Linked DNA regions of Homo sapiens: region 1 is linked to region 2. The links are contacts of gene promoters, found by promoter capture Hi-C in human tissues and cell types (Jung and others, 2019). All regions are on one chromosome and are shown on one strand. The core of a region is centred on a gene start or on the middle of the fragment in contact, and the rest is flanking DNA. Distances in the headings are between cores, read along the strand shown. Region 1 overlaps SIAE (sialic acid acetylesterase). Region 2 holds the start of CCDC15 (coiled-coil domain containing 15).

Region 1 (5,563 bases), core at 2,934-5,433, 300 kb after region 2:
TAGCATTTACATTGCATTAGGTATAAGTAATATAGAGATACAGGAGGATGTTTGTAGGCTATAAACAAATATGCCATTTTGTATAAGGGACTTGAACATCTTCAGATTTTGATGTGCTGGGGTTTGGTGTGGGGGGGTGTGGTTCCTGGAACCAATGCCCTGTGGACATGAAGGATAACTGTATATGCATTTTGAGACTTATTCCAGTATGTTTCAGTACTTCAACTATGTTTCAGTAGTTCAACAGTCATGTCTGAGCTGTGTTTCTTTTAAGCATGCTTCTCTTGTGTGGTATGGATTAGACAAATCTACCTCCCCACGGCCTTTTTGGTTCCACATAATATCCTAAGCACCATTTTAAAAAGAAGTTAATTGGCTGGGTGCGGTGGCTCACACCTGTAATCCCAGCACTCTGGGAGGCCAAGGCAGGCGGATCACGAGGTCTGGAGATTGAGACCATCCGGGCTAACACGGTGAAACCCCGTCTCTACTAAAAATATAAAAAATTAGCTGGGCATGGTGGTGGGCGCCTGTAGTTCCAGCTACTCGGGAGGCTGAGGCAGGAGAATGGTGTGAACCTGGGAGGCGGAGCTTGCAGTGAGCTGAGATTGGCCACTACACTCCAGCCTGGGCGAGAGAGCAAGACTGTCTCACACACAAAAAAAAAAAAAAAAGAAGAAGTTAATTGGTCTGGTTTTGTGTTATGAGATACTTTTTCAGAGTAGAAATATTTCAGTTTCAAGGTATCAGAGTGTTGTAAGTGCTGGGCAATATTCTTTAGCCTCAGCTACTTCACGGCTCCTCTTGTCTAACATAGACCTGCTCCTTAAGATCACAGATTTCATTATATTTCTACCCTCTTTGGGAACATGATTCATCCTGGTCTCTTTTGGTAAAAGTGGATCAAGGTGATTCAGTGCAGCCCATTGGTTTTGGTTATTAATTTGATCTCAGTATATTGAAAGCTCAGGAGCTCAGAGGACTGATGTTTACTAAGAGGTGTCAGGCTAGTTCACCACCTGCTAGGTTAAATGACGTTTCAATTTCTTTTCCAGATATTTAATGCTACAAGGGAGTTGTCTAACACTGCGGCATATCAGTCTGTCCGCATCCTCTCTGTCTCTCCCATTCAAGCAGAGCAGGAGCTGGAGGACCTTGTTGCGGTTGACTTGCAGTGGTCTAAGCCCACCTCAGGTATGTGACGGCTTGAACGTGCTGTCTCTTATATAATGGGTTAGCGCCCTAAGTGGAATCTGTAAGACTGAATTTGGTTCTTATGTGTCTATTTATTATTACTCATGCCTTTTATTCCTTTCTTATTGACTCTTCATCCTTCCTGATGGTGACTATTTCAGGTTTCTTCCCAAGACTACCAACAAATCTTCCCTCTTGCTGTGGGGAAATGAGTCTTCCTTCAACATCTTCAGTGAAAATATCAAGGCCCTTCGGCATGGGCTCCGCCAGCATCTCTCGCCGATGCCTTCACTCCAAATCCTCTCTTCTTTCTTCCCTTGTCTCTGTGTCTGTAGACAACTGGTCTCTTTTCAGGGCTAACTCTGATTTGGGTTCTCCTTTCTCCAGAGCCTTCTTTAATCCCTTAGGCACTGTGGTTTTCCCCTCAGTCCATTCAGCATGAGCTCTCCATTTCTTTTTTTTCTTTTTCTTTTTTTTGAGACGGAGTCTCAGTCTGTCGCTCAGGCTGGAATGCAGTGGTGTGATCTTGGCTCACCTGCAACCTCCGCCTCCTGGGTTCAAGTGATTCCCCTGCCTCAGCCTCCCGAGTAGCTGGGACTATAGGCACCAGCCACCACGCTCAGCTAATTTTTGTATTTGTAGTAGAGATGGGGTTTCACCATATTGGCCAGGCTGGTCTCGAACTCCTGACCTCATGATCCGCCCACCTCGGCCTCCCAAAGTGCTGGGATTACAGGCGTGAGCCACTGCACCCGGCCACTCTCCATTTCATGACTGCTTTGTGTCAGGATCTGTGCCAGGCCCCAGGGATACAGCAGTGACCAAACGGACACACAGTCCCTGCTCTCTGAGCTTAGCCTTTCTTCTATTCTCACAAAATAAAACAAAACAAAACAACAGTAAACATCGCAAACACCCTTCACAGATGCTTCATCTTTCTCCTTTGCTTTGTTAAACCTTTCTAGAACGTCTTCTGTTTTCATTCTTTTCACTGCCTTTCCCTGTGTTCACTCTTCAGCCCTTTGTCACCTGGCTTCTGCTTCCACCTCAACAATTTGTTCACCTTGATGTTACTATCATTCTTCTAATGATAAACCTAGAGACCTTTGCCGCATTCAGCACTGCGGACCACCCCCTTTAGAAACTGCATGTCCCTCCTTGCTTGCCTGGTACTTTCTTTTCCTACTTCTCCTCCTCTGTCTTCTCTGTCCCTTTTTCTTTGCTTCTTCATTCCCTTCCCTCAGAGGTGGTCCCTGTGTTCCCCCTGGACTTTTTCTTTTTCTCCTGTGCATGCTTTCCTTGGTGCTCAGATGCTCCTACATTTATAAGTAGTAATTCACTTAACAAATATTTGAGTGTCTACTATGTGCTCGACACTGTTCTAAGTGCTGGGGATATTGTAGTGAGTAAAACAGGCAAGAATACCTGACCTCATGGAGCTTACAGTCTAGTGTAAGGGAACTCTGAAAGTGAATCATAAAATAAGCAAATTATAGACAAAGTATCTGATGCTATCCAGTCTTACACTATCCGAACTCTCCCTATAAAAGAGCTCAGGAACTGAATGGATTCAGGTAAATTTTTGGATGAATCCTTTGCTCTATGAACTCTTACTACATGGTATCCAAAACTCAGGACTCAATCAAATTTGGATAATGTATTATGCCTTGTTATCTGAACTTGTTTTCACTTTGTGAAATCAGAAACTGAATGAATAAATGTGGATATCACAGGATAGGTTAATGGGTGACGTGCTAATGAGACAAAAACAAATAAATATATCAGGGAAGGGAGGCAATAGGAAGTGTTCGTGCTGGGATGGGGAAAGGCAACATTTCAGTAGCAGCCTGAAAGAGGCGAGGCAATTCAGATACCTAGGAAGGGCACAGAGGATCCATCTCTCCCACGTTGAGAATCTCTCCTGCCTGCTGTGCTCTTCCCCCTTTTTTTTTTTTTTTTTTTTGACCGAGTCTCACTCTGTTACCCAGGCTAGAGTGCAGTGATGTGATCTTGGCTCACTGCAACCTCCACCTCCCAGCTTCAAGTGATTCTTCTGCCTCAGCCTCCCGAGTAGCTGGGATTACAGGTGTGCCCCACCACGCCCAGCTAATATTTGTATTTTAGTAGAGACGGGGTTTCACTATGTTGGCCAGGCTGGTCTGGGACTCCTGGCCTCAAGTGATCCATGATCTGCCTGCCTCACACTCCCAAAGTGCTGGGATTACAGGCGTGAGCCACCGCGCCCGGTCTCCTGCCTCTTCTGTCATCACATCACTGCTGCTGGGAAAGGTTTTCTGATTTTAAGGACTCTTGTAATTAGATTGGACGCACCTAGATGAGCCAGGACACTCTCTCCATCTCAAGGTCCCTAACCTTAATCACATCTACAAAGTGCCTTTCGCCATGCAAGGTAACACAGCCACAGGTTCCAGGGATGAGTGTGTCGACGTCTTTGGGGTCTGTTATTTTGCCTACACCCCACATTCTCATTCTCAAGCATTTTCAAGTGGGTTTCCATTTTCTTTACTCCAAGATGTGGCTCTAACCTCCCCTCCAGTCTTATCTTCCACTGTTCTCTTTTATAATCTCTGCTCCAGCCAAATACTCTCAGAATATTTCCTATTCTGTGTGCCTTTTCACGTATTTTTTCTTCTGCCTTGAGTGCCAGCTCTGTCTGTTAAACTCCTGTTGCTGGTTTAAGGCTTCTCCAGCTCTCTTCTTCCCTCCTGTTTACCACTCCCCTCTACCTACTGTCAGTGAAACCACAGCCACCCTCAATCAGTCAGCAAACACTGACTCTCCATCATGTCCTGGACGCTGGGGATACAGACGTGAATCAGGTGAAGTCTCTGCTAATAGTGTAGTGAGCTAAGGGAAACACTGAACAGATGGTTATTGCAAGGTCTAGTGATGGAGCGATGCACAGAGTGTCGTGGAAGCACGGTGCGGGGCGGGGAGGTCAGTGTTTATTAGGCCTTTTAGGATCTGCCTCTCATTTGATATTCTTTCTTTGTGTTAAAACTCCTTAATACTTGTTTGTACTTACCATCTTTTGCCATATATTTTATTCAACTAAATACTTGTCTTACTCTTTTTTTTTTTTTTTTGAGACGGAGTCTTGCTCTGTCGCCCAGGCTGGAGTGCAGTGGCACGATCTCAGCTCACTGCAACCTCCGCCTCCCAGGTTCAAGCGATTCTTCTGCCTCAGCCTCCTAGGCAGCTGGGATTAAAGGTGTGCGCCACCACACCCAGCTAATTTTTTTGTATTTTTAGTAGAGATGGGGTTTCACCACGTTGGTCAGGCTGGTCTCGAACTCCTGACCTCATGATCTGCCTGCTTCAGCCTCCCAAAGTGCTGGGATTACAGGCATGAGCCACCATGCCCAGCCCTACTTGCCTTATTCTATCAACTAATAGACCTATGAGGAGAGGTTCCATGTGTCTCTATATTGCTTTCATCACTGTCTCCCATCCATCTAGTAGTTCCTGATACATGGTAGGTGCTCTGTCCATTTAATTATTTTGGAATTGATTTGAATCCTCACTATTGCACTGTCTACTTTTGGAGTGCCAGTGACTTAGCCATAGTCAGTCTTTAATAAACCTTGGGCTGAACTGATCCCATCCTTGTGTGTACATGCATGCCCCCCTCTTCACCAGCTTTCTTCTAACATGAAATTGCTCACTCTTGCCTCTGTTGGTTACTGGGCAGTGTAATTGGATGAATGAATTAGACTGTGCTGAGAATTTAAACACTAGTTTTGGCTTCTGTGGCTTTCCCTTTGGGCCGAATTTCCCATCACTTATCTGTCCATGTTTTCTTTACCATAGCTATTTATTTTTATTTTTTGACTTTTATTTTATTTATTATTTATTTTTTTGAGACAGAGTTTTGCTCTTGTTGCCCAGGCTGGTGTGCAATGGCACGATCTCAGCTCACTGCAACCTATGCCTCCCAGGTTCAAGCGATTCTCCTGCCTCAGCCTCCCGAGTAGCTGGGATTACAGGTGCCCACCACCACGCCCAGCTAATATTTGTATTTTGGGTAGAGACGGGGTTTCATCATATTGGCCAGGCTGGTCTCGAACTCCTGACCTCAGATGATCCACCTGCCTCATTCTCTCAAAGTGCTGGGATTATAGGTGTGAGCCACTGCGCCCAGCCTCTTTAGCATAGCTATAAAATTGGGTATAAAGCCACCAGAAAAAAGAAGAAATACACATTTCTTCTTAAGTTGCCCCCTCCTTGCTTTTTCCCTTCCACAGAGCTAAGTGGGAATGAGTGGCTGAGTAAGAGGGGAGACACAGAAGAGAGTAGCATGGGGACATGATGGCCCTCCCACCTCTCACCTATTTGAGGGAGAGCATTG
Region 2 (5,759 bases), core at 1,926-4,425:
AGACATTCTAGTCATCCTAGGCCAAGCGTCAGATATGTGAATAAGAAAGCCATCTTGGACATTACAGCCCAGCAGGTGCCACATTACTGGGAGAACTTGACTATTGTCTAGCTCCAGCCAATAGCCGGAAAATAGTCAAGGTGTCTCAGACATGTCCAGTTATTTGAGCCCCAGCTGAGGTCCCAGACACTATGGGGCAGAAACAAGCCATTACCACTGTACCCTGCTCAAATTCCTGTTACATAGTATTATTTGCTTTATACCACTAAGTTCTGGGGTGGTTGGTTACACAGCAAAAGGTAACCAGAACAAATTATAAAATAATGCAATCCCATATATGATGATAGAACAGCAGTGTCTTTTGATGCTAATTTATTAATAATTATTGGGGGGAGGTAGTCTAAAGCTATGACATTTTTAGGAATCCTGATGGCCCCCTGAAATTTTGGGGAGAAAAATGAGTAGAAGTTCCCCTTTAGAACAGACATGATCTAAGGGCCAAGCTTTAGAAGTAACTATTCAGCATTTATTTTGAGCTGACAGAGCTATATCCGTTAATAAGGGTGGATACCCAGACTAGATATGCTAAAGCTATAAGGAGTTCTATTAGATGCTTGATCAAACTCCCTTTGGCTGGAACTGATCAGAAATTTTTAAATCAGGAAAAGGAGATATGTTTATCCATGTTCCAAGACTTTAATATTTTGAGTTAATGTGTGTGAATACGATAGTCAATACTTCTTAACATAGAAAAAGTTTGATGGTGTCAAATTTTAGGCATGTTGACACTACTGATATTATACAGATGTAATTTGAGCAATTACAAAGAGGTGTCAACAACTTAAATACCAAAATATCTTTATACCAAATCTTACCAAGTCTTGTGGGGTGTTTCCTGCATTCATCCCTTCTCATTCCACTCCTTTTTTTTTTCCAGAGATGGGGTCTCACTCTATTGCCCAGGCTAGAGTGCAGTAGTATGATCATAGTTCACTGCAGCCTACAATTCGTGGGCTCAAGCACTTCAATCATCCTTTTTCAAGGCTGTTCTTCTCTATTTCTTACCACTAACAAAGTTTCGATGCTATACTCCATGCTTAAATTATTATAATTATATTCTAATTTATCCCCAGGATCCAATCACTCCCTATCCTTCAAAACCTTTGAAGCAATTCATCTAAAGAAAACACTGGTTGATCATGACATTCACCTGTAAATATTAAACAAAGTCAATCCCTTCTCCAAAATTTCCTAAGGTACTCTACCATCCCTATTTTCCATAATCCTGTCAGCAACCATTCTCCTACTAAGCTTTCCACTCCAATCGATCTAATCTACCCTTAGAATCCTGAACCTTGCTTACTTCTTACTCTCCTCATTCTCCTTAATAGGAGAATCATTCCCTTCCCTTCTCCGATCAAATTCTTCATTACACTTTCCTGGGTCACATCAACCCAACGTCATAGCTTCTTGATTGAGCATTATATTCTTAGAACTTAGATAGAGATACCACCTAGACTCTTAAAATCCTTTTTGGAAATAGGCAGGGTAGGAATAAATCAATGAATATACATACATATGTGCAAACATAAATAAAATGAATATAGTATATTGCATTACTTTAACATTTAAACACATCTCATTTCTCTTCTGAGATCAAGTACACTGAGGGAACATATCTCATCCTTTTTTCATCCATGTTCAGCACCTTGTCTACACATACAGAAGACATTTTGTGCCTTTCATAAATACTTCATGAGTGTCTATATTGATTAGGCAGTATTTAAGATAAAAGTGGGAATGTGATGATAAATGACATTTGTTCTCTACGCTCAAGGAGCTCACACTGCATCAGGAAAAGATATATAAACAATCTACTATAACACAATGTGGTAAGTGCCAAGTTAAATTTGAACAAATAGCTAAGGGGCACAGTTTGGTGAAAGACTATCAGAAACCATGGAATTTCTAGTTAGACTTTCTCAGATTATCAGAGTTCATCTCTTTCTCCTTTATTCTATTACTCCATTTTGCCTGAATCCTCATTACAAAATTTATCATAAACCTTAAGCAACCAATTAATGTTACTTGAAGTATGCCAACTATCATCCATACTAAGTTGCAGTGTCTGGAAGATGTAGATAGTGCTTATGTCTTGGGCATAACAAGCAATCAAGAGTCTGAAGTAAACTGATATACAGATATATATCTATATAACCTGTTCCATGTAGATTATGCTCTATATATTATAGTAGGTGAGTAATAAATATTTGATTATGCCAACTAAAGCTGCAGTCAAGTTTTGGCAAATACTTGTTCTATAATCCTAATGCAAGAGCATAAACTATTTATGGCAGAATAGAAACAGCATCCTCGGACTGTTCATCTTTAAGCACCCAGGATTAGAGAAGGCTAATAAAAAGGGTGGTGGGGAACCCCACCATATTTGGATCAAACTGACACTCACATATGCTGGGATTTCCGAACTACCTGGTGAGGCAGGTTCCACCCATGCCCCAACTGGTACTATAGCCTCGTTCCTCTCAGCCAGCACTGCCAACACGTCCTTGCTCTTCAGGGGGTTTAAAGCCAGGGGCAACCTTGAGGTATTTCGAGGTTTCTTTCGGGCCATACTTCCCAGCATCTGTGACTCCTGATTAGGAGAAAGAAAAAGCTTAAAATCTTCAAATGACTGCATTAAAAGTTCAACCTCCTAACACATGAGCCACAGGCCCGTGAAAAGGAGAGAAGCCCTGGAGGCAGAAGCCTGGCATGAAGTGGAAACACACGGATTCTAGAGAAAAAGGAAGAAAAGAAGGGAAGAGAAATGGGAAGAAATAAAGAGGCAAAGAAAGGTTTTTAAGTTGCCTTCTAGAAGAAATGGCGATGAGAGGGAAGAGAAAGGATGGGAATGAGAGAACGAAGACTGTCCTCAGCTGTGGGCGCAGCGAGGCGGGAAGGGAGGAATGACAGCTGCAACCCGGAGAAAGAGGGAGGGGCGGGGACCTGTGTCTGCAGCCGAGAGTCCCAATAATCGGTATAGGTTATGGGAAGACGCGCTGAACGGCTGGGAGCCTCGGGCCAGATAAAAGCCTGCTTCTGAGGCCCCGAGGCCTGCTCCGGCTGAGATGGCACTGGCCAGGAATCGGCCCGCAGCTCGCCACAGACTCAGTCTACTCGGAGTACTAAGGTAACCGCCTCAAGTAGACCGCCACTTTGCGGTGGGCTGCTCCGTCCCGCCCATCCGTAGCCTTATGCCCGCCCTTTCCGGAGCCCGCGTCCCCTCCCGGAGCTGGGAAGGCGTGAGAGGTGGAGTTTCGAGCGCCCGAGGTATCGTCATTTCCTCTTCCTGTCCGGCTGAGGGGGCGGGGACGTGTGGGTAAGCGGAGTCGCTGGGTAATGCGCCATGTGAGGCGCGGTGGGACTGTCGTTCCTGGACCAACGCCGAGACTTCCTAAATCCCTCCGGAAAGGGATGCGTTGGGCCTGTGATCTGGCGACTAGGAGGGTCAGGAGTCCCAGTAGAGGGAATCACGGGAAAAGAATGAAAGAGGGAGGCGAGCCTGGCACGGCTTCCTGGAGAAACAAACTAAGCTAACAAATTTTTCGGATCCTTTGTGCAGCTAATTTTACAGTACTGTTTCATACATCTTATTATATTTGGACATCACGGCCTGTTGAGTGGTCTCCCTCTCTGCTGCAAGCTCTGCTGTAATCCAGAGACACTCAATTATCTCTGTAGGATAATTTATTCATTCGATTAACATACATTACTACTAACTTTTTATAAACCAGTACTGTTCCAAGCACCGGAGATACATAGCTATGAACGAAACAAATATCCCTGCTCAGGGAATTCACAATAGAGTGAGGGGAAATAAGCGAATAAACAATGAGTAAGTAAATGTGTGTGATGTGGAGTAAAAGCAAAGAAAGCGGATAGGGAGTGTGGTGGGCAGGGTGGGGATTGGAGGGATGAAATATTAGAACGTCCAGAGAAGCTGCACTGAGATACTTTTCAGCAAAGACTTAAATGAGTTAATGGAAGAAGCCACTGTGCTCTTCAACGGAGGCTTTATAAACATGTTCCAGATATAACAGCAAGTATAAACGCCCCAAGGTGGAAGCATTGCCTGGTTGAGAAAAAGTCAGGAGGATAGTGTGACTGGAGCAGAGGGAGAGTGGAAGAATGCTGAGACAGTAGGTCAAGCAGGCAATCCGATCAAACATCGTAAGCCACCATAGGTGTTGAGATGGGGAGCCACTGGAGCAAGGTTTGGAGCAAAGGAACACCATAATGTGACAAAATTAAAAAAATAATAATTCCGAATGCTGTAGTGAGAATAGACTGTAAAGAAGACCAATTAGGTGGCTATTGCAATAATTCAGTTAAGGGATTGTGATGTCTTGGATCAAGGAGGTAGTGGTGGAGATGATGATAAGTGGTTGGATTCTGTATCTATTTGGGAGGCAAAACTTTCAGGATCTGTTGAAGGTTTGGATATGGATTGTGTGAGGGAGAGATGTCAAGGAAAACTAGGGGTTTCATCCTGAGCAGCTGTCAGGATGAAATTACTATTTACTGAGATAGTGAAGATGGTGGAAGGAGTAGATTTGGAAAGGGGAAGATCAGGAGTTCAGTTTGGGGCAGATAAAGTTTTATCTAATCAACATCCGAGAAGATAGTATGAGAAAAAGTGTCTGGAGCTCAGAGAAGGGTTCTGGGCTACAAATATAAATCTAAGAGTCGTTAGCCTGTAGATTTAAAGCCATGAGACTGGATGGAGTCATCAAGGGGTTGAATATAGACAGATAAAAGAATAAATCCTAAAACAGCCCCAGGGTATGTCAGTATTACAGAGGCTGAGAAAAAGAGGAGGAGAATGCTAAGAGATTGAGAAGGATTAATCAGTAAACCAAGGAAGAAAACTATGAGGGTGTGATACCTTGAAAGCCAGGTGAAAAAGAAATGTTCCATTGAGGGCAGACAATCTGTGTTAAATCCTACTGACAGATCAAATAAGGTAAGGACTGAAAATTGACTATTGGATTTGACCATGTGGAAGTGATTGATAACTTTTAAAAGAGCAGTGTCTTTAGAGTAGTTGGAGAGCAAAAGCCTGATGGGCTAGGCAAGAAAGAGTAGGAGAAGGAATTGGAGACAGCAATTTTAGACAATTCTTTCCATGAATTTTGTTGTGAAGGGACACAGCGAAAGAGGTGGCTGAACGTAGAGGTAGGATCATTGGAGAGTTCTTTAAGATCATAGCATATATTTGTTATTGATGGAAATTAACCAATAGACAGGAGAAAACTAATGATGCGGGAGAGATATGGGAGAATTTAGGGATCTACAGTCATGTGTCACTTAAAGATGGGGATACATTTTGATAAATGTTAGGTGATTTTGTCTTTGTGCAAACCTCATAGAGGAAATGGAATTTAGTGAACAAGTGGAGGGATTGGCCTTAGATAGCAGGAGGTATGGTTAATTATAATAATAGCAGAAAAGTTAGAATACACAGTAAACTGATAATTAGGTAATGTGGTGGCAGGAGCTTATGGAAATTCTCTTCTGATTACTCTGTTTTCTCTGTAAAATAGTATTGTAGCCAACCTCCAAGATGGCCCCTAATGATCCCCACCTCTTGGTGTTCACACCTTTGTGTAGTCCCCTCCCACATTGTACCTAGGTTGGACTGTATGACCAACAGAATATGGCAGAAGGGATGGTATATTACTACAGAGGTTAGGTTATAA

Evidence for each region. Contacts are between HindIII fragments. The study calls those that stand out against the background at their distance.
Region 1: a fragment that was not itself captured here is called in contact with the fragment with the promoter of CCDC15 in region 2 in 1 of the 25 tissues and cell types used here (neural progenitor cells).

The regions. Positions count from the first base shown.
Region 1 is chr11:124,650,286-124,655,848 of GRCh38, reverse strand. SIAE (sialic acid acetylesterase) reads left to right here. Exons shown (of 10, transcript NM_170601.5): 4 at 1,056-1,194. Among named protein-coding and RNA genes, the nearest start is that of SIAE, 21 kb to the left of the region's middle. The HindIII fragment of the contact is 7,658 bases long and covers 355-5,563 here.
Region 2 is chr11:124,951,618-124,957,376 of GRCh38, reverse strand. It overlaps CCDC15 (coiled-coil domain containing 15), which reads right to left and starts at 3,175. Exons shown (of 16, transcript NM_025004.3): 1 at 3,007-3,175; 2 at 2,468-2,653. The coding sequence starts at 2,644. It overlaps CCDC15-DT (CCDC15 divergent transcript), which reads left to right and starts at 3,386. Exons shown (of 3, transcript XR_948134.3): 1 at 3,386-3,895. RefSeq lists an enhancer at 2,972-3,515. The HindIII fragment of the contact is 10,363 bases long and covers 1,994-5,759 here.